2 separate regions of the Homo sapiens genome follow, and region 1 is linked to region 2. The links are contacts of gene promoters, found by promoter capture Hi-C in blood cells and fetal thymus (Javierre and others, 2016). All regions are on one chromosome and are shown on one strand. The core of a region is centred on a gene start or on the middle of the fragment in contact, and the rest is flanking DNA. Distances in the headings are between cores, read along the strand shown.

Evidence for each region. The method cuts DNA at HindIII sites, captures the fragments that hold promoters and counts their contacts. A CHiCAGO score of 5 or more calls a contact.
Region 1: a contact is called between a fragment that was not itself captured here and the fragment with the promoter of DNAJB13 in region 2, in 1 of 17 cell types (erythroblasts). The highest score is 5.1, in erythroblasts.

Annotation. Positions count from the first base shown.
Region 1 is chr11:74,179,743-74,182,442 of GRCh38, reverse strand. All of the region lies in intron 1 of PPME1 (protein phosphatase methylesterase 1), which reads right to left. Among named protein-coding and RNA genes, the nearest start is that of PPME1, 9.8 kb to the right of the region's middle. The HindIII fragment of the contact is 5,755 bases long and covers 1-2,700 here.
Region 2 is chr11:73,949,694-73,952,393 of GRCh38, reverse strand. DNAJB13 (DnaJ heat shock protein family (Hsp40) member B13) reads right to left here and starts at 1,368. Exons shown (of 8, transcript NM_153614.4): 1 at 1,257-1,368. The coding sequence starts at 1,324. The HindIII fragment of the contact is 10,163 bases long and covers 1-2,700 here.

The DNA of each region.
Region 1 (2,700 bases), core at 51-2,550, 230 kb before region 2:
GGTTGCAGTGAACCGAGATCATGCCACTGCACTCCAGCCTGGGTGACAGAGTGAGAACTCTGTCTCAAAAAAAAAAAGACATTATCAATTTAAATGTAAAAAAGAAATGTATCTTAGAATTGAGGAAATACAGTAAGTTTCCATTAGACAGTTTTCCAATTTAAATAATATTTCTACACATAAATCATCTCATTTTCTCCTCAAAAATTCTATGAGGCTAGCATTATTATCTACATTTAAAAAAAAATAAAGTCAAGTTTGCACCAGTTAAGCGGTAAGTAGTAAAGCCAGGAAGAGAATCCTAGTTTGTTGATTTTAAAACCTACCTTCCTTCTACTACAAGACAGTAGAAGTATAGAACTAACTGGGTTGGCAAACTACAGCCTACGGGAAATCCAGCCCACCACCTATTTTTGCATGGCCCAGGATCAGAGAATGATCTTTACATTTTTAAAAGGTGGAGGGCAGGGGGAGAAGAGAGACTAATGACATGTGGAAATTATGTGGAATTCAAATTTCAGTGTCCATAAAGTGTTGTTAGAACACAGACACATTCAGTTACATATTGTCTGTGGCTACTTTCACTCTAAAACAGCAGAGCTGAGTAGCTGCAACAGAGACTAACATGGCCCACAAAGCCTAAAATACTATCTGGCTTTTAACAGAAAATGTTTGCTGATTCCTGGTAAAATGACAGGTGCCACCAAAGGACAGAAAATAGAAAAATCGGTGCAAGCTGGACTGATCAGAAAAAGCCTCAGAACTTTATTTTAAATGAATTTGTGCTATGTGTCCATTAAATTAAATTTTACAAAAACATTTAACTGTGTTACAGTAGAAAGCACAAAGAAACAAAGGTCCTTGCACTACAGGAGTTCTAAATGTTATTGAGGAAACACACAAAAATCTGCATAAAATTATCTTCGATAAGTCTGACACAGTAACAGTGAAAAAGTACAATACCAATGCAAACAATTGATGAGTGGAGATGCCAAAATTGTTATAGGTGCTCAGAGAAGAGAGAGCAAATGAATGAACTAAAGTAGTCTGAAAGTGCTTCATGAGTTTTAAAGATGGATAGGAGTTGAAAAAGTGGGCCGGGCGCGGTGGCTCACGCCTGTAATCCCAGCACTTTGGGAGGCCGAGGCGGGTGGATCATGAGGTCAGGAGATCGAGACCATCCTGGCTAACAAGGTGAAACCCCGTCTCTACTAAAAATACAAAAAAAAAATTAGCCGGGCGCGGTGGCAGGCGCCTGTAGTCCCAGCTACTCGGGAGGCTGAGGCAGGAGAATGGCGTGAACCCGGGAAGCGGAGCTTGCAGTGAGCCGAGATTGCGCCACTGCAGTCCGCAGTCCGACCTGGGCGACAAAGCGAGACTCCGTCTCAAAAAAAAAAAAAAAAAAAAAAAAAGTGAAGAAAATGGAAGGCATTGCCAACAAAATAAACTTGGCAATTGTTAAGTGCAAGAAACACTTAGGAAATTACCACTGCTTAGGACATGACTTTGGAGCGCTTTTAACACTAGCCTTTAATGGTGGACCACTTGCTCTGGTCCCTAAACTTGGTGAAGGTGCTTGGAAAATAGTCTTCGCTCTTAGAGAATAAGTGATAAATTGGGCAAGGGCAGAAAAATTGAATACTATAAAATAAGGCTAGTGTGAAAATAATTGCTAATTGACATTTGCTGTCTTATAATAGTGGACTTGCTTTCAGGTTTGGGGAATCAAAGAGGAAGACATAAATTGTCAAATTTTGATAAAATAAAAGTAACAAGCCTGAATCTGTACATATCATGAGACCTATTACAAGCCTATTACAAGACCTATTACAAGAGTTTCGACCATATAATTATTTTAAATCTCAAAGTAACATATTGTAAACACAATACATTTTACCTAAAAGCTGGTATTGAAATAGAGATTCTATTATTCTATGAAGTATAACCGCTTTTAGGAGAAAGGCAGTATAGCCCTAGTTATACCATCTTAAGGGAACTGATGGGGAAATAACGTTGTTCTTATAGAACGGGGTTAAATAGGCCAGGATTTGGGTTTCTCGTTCAGTTAGCACTAAAGGAGACAGCATTCTAAGCACCAGCAAAATTCAGACACAATTCCTACCCTTATGAACCTCAACAGTTTTGAGGAATACACAGTTGACCAATAATTACAATTCAGAGGACTAAGGAGAATAGAGAATGTTCTGCTTGTCTACAATGTGATATGCCTACTAGGAGATAATGACCAAAACCAACAAAATTATATGATCAAATCCTAAGGAAAGCCAGGAGGAAGGAGAGAAAGGGGAGAAAGGGAAGGAGGAAAAACCTTCCTTGCCTAGAGAACAATAACCAAGAAATGTAAGTTGTATGTTTTTACATGAATGTCTCAAATCTAAATAGGAATAACACATCAACATCTAGGCTGCTTAAGTCTGTTAAGAGAGTTATTGATGAGTCATGAATGGGCACAGTAGCAGTCTTAATCACTTGTTGTCACAAATTCTGTCAAAGTCTAGGAGTCTGGTAGTGGAGGCTAAATACTGAAGTTTAATTGCAGCCAGCTATTTAAATCAAGGCACCACTGTTTTTAAAATGTCCTTATTAGCAGTACTTTGAAGAGAATGAAAAGAAAGCAACCAGATGGCTGGCTGAGGGTTGTGGTAGGTCTGAAGTGTTCCTTACTCCAAGGCATGCCAT
Region 2 (2,700 bases), core at 119-2,618:
AAACAGTGATGGAAAGTTCTCAGAACAGCACCTACACACTCAAAACATACACCTATTGTCACTGCCTAACTTAATTGATTGAGTTATCCTGGACTCCTCTTTTCTTCACCCTCCAGTGATCCACTTAATTACCAAGTCCATTCCCTCCCCTTTCTCTGGCCTCATCTTTTGCCTTGATTACCACGAACAGCCTCCTAAAGGGTCTCTCTCCTTCCAAGATAACTTCCACAGCCCCCCATACTTCCTCTTCTGTAACACTCATCACAGTTGTGGTGACTTATTCAACATCTATTCAGCAACAAAATCTAGCTGCATGAGGTAAGGGAGTGTCGATGTCGGATTCCGACATTTATCTCCAGCTGCTACCACTGCAGCAGGAGTGAAGTACCCTCTCAACCCTTGTGGTAGACGCTCAATAAATATTTGTTAAAAAAAAAAACATGTTTTTGGCCAGGTGCGGTGACTCACACCTATAATCCCAGCACTTGGGAAGGCTGAGGCGGGTGGATCACCAGAGGTCGGGAATTTGAGACCAGCCTGACCAAAAAGGAGAAACCCCATCTCTACTAAAAATACAAAATTAGCTGGGCATGGTGGTGCATGCCTGTAATCCCAGCTACTTGGGAAGCTGAGGCAGAAGAATCGCTTGAACCCAGGAGGTGGAGGTTGCGGTGAGCCGAGATCACGCCATTGCACTCCAGCCTGGGCAACAAGACCAAGACTCCGTCTCAAAACAAAAAACAAAAACATGTTTTCAGAAAAATGTACTGACTCCTGTTGTAGGCTTTCTTAGGAACGAGCCAGAACGTCCTTAAGATCCGATGGAAGTATTCAGGAATGTAGTTTAGTCAATGCTGAAAACCTCCATCATGGCCAGAATTGAATTTAAAACATCCATCTGGCCTGGCCACTCCCTTGTTCACAAGCCTCTGGTTCTCCATAATATTCAAGATAAAGTTCAAATGGCTCCTTTGTCCCCACTTCATTGCTGGGAAAAGCAAGGCACCCAGGAGAGGATATAGGGCATGGAGCATAAAGGGAGATGGGTTGGGAGCAGATTGAGGAACTAAAGAGTTCAAATTTCCAACCTGGGCCCTGACCCAGACCAAAGCCAGGATACAGGTATGCAAGAAGTGAAAGGAGGAACAAGGTTTACCTTGTCTGCGCTAAGCTGTGCAGGAAAGCTCGTTTTGGAAGAGAAGAGGGCAGGGCCTGCCCCAGCACACCCCTAAGGCCTGGCTCCCACCCCAACTTACGCCTGCTTGATCTGGGCATCCTCTGAATTGCGAGTGATCCCGAGCACAGAGTAATAATCCTGGCCCATGGCTGGCTAGCTGGCAGTCAGGCCCTGGATAGTCCTCAGACTCTAGCAAGGCTGTTAGTTGGCTTCCTTGGTTGCTCCTGACAACCGCACAGGTGCACTCTGGGAGTTGTAGTCCCACTTCCCTAAACAAATTTCAGCTCTGCCACAGAGAGGAGTCAGTGAAAGGACTGGGGGAGAGCTGGGGCTGATTCTGCGACCCTGTGAAAGGTCACTCAACTCGGAAATTGAAGACTCACAGGGCTCTGTTTTATTTTGTTTTTGTTTTTAAAGAGAGCAGTAATTAGTTTTAATAAAAAGGTTTTAGAAGAAATGCATTTGGCTAATTTTTTAAAAATACATTTATTTTAGAACAGTTTTAGAGTTTAGAAAAGTTGAGAAGACAGTACAGAGAGTTCCCATATACCTCACATCCACATTCTCCTATTTTATTATTATTATTATCATTATCATGTTTTTGAGACAGGGTCTTCACTCTGTCACCCAGGCTGGTGGGCAGTGGCAGGATCACACCTCACTGCAGTCTCAACCTCCCAGGCTCAAGGGATTCTTCCACCTCAGCCTTCCAAGTAGCTGAGACACAGGCGTGCACTACCATGCCTGGCTAATTTTTGTATGTTTTGTAGAGATGGGGTTTCACCATGTTGCCCAGACTGGTCTTGAACTCTTGGGCTCGGCTTGGCCTCCCAAAGTGCTGGGATTACAGGTGTGAGCCACTGCATTCACATTCCCCTATTATTAACATCTTACATTAGTATGGTACATTTGTCACAAATAATGACCAATATTGATACATTATTATTAACTAAAATCCACATTTTATTCAGATTTACTAGTTGTTTTAACCTAATATCTTATTTCTGTTCCGGACCCCATCCAGGATGCCACGTTACACTTAGCTGTTGCATCTCCTCTGGTGCCTCCTGACTGTGACAGTTTCTCAGACTTTCCATGTTTTTGATGACCTTGACAGTTTAAGTAATAATGGTCAGGTGTTTTGTAGAATGTCCTGCAATTGGAATTTGTTTGGTGTTTTTCTTTTTGTTTGTTTGTTTTTGTTTTTTGAGATGGAGTCTCACTCCATCGCCCAGGCTGGAGTGCAGTGGCACAATTTCAGCTCACTGCAACCTCTGCCTCCCGGGTTCCAGCGATTCTCCTGCCTCAGCCTCCCAAGTAGCTGAGATTACAGGCATGTGCCACCATGCCCGGCTAATTTTTGTTATTTTTACTAGAGACGGGGTTTCACCATGTTGGCCAGGCTGGTCTCAAACTCCTGACCTCAAGTGATCCACCCACCTCAGCCTCCCAAAGTGTTGGGATTACAGGCGTGAGCCACCGCGCCAGCCCTCCTTCCCCACTTGCTGTATTGCACTCTTTGG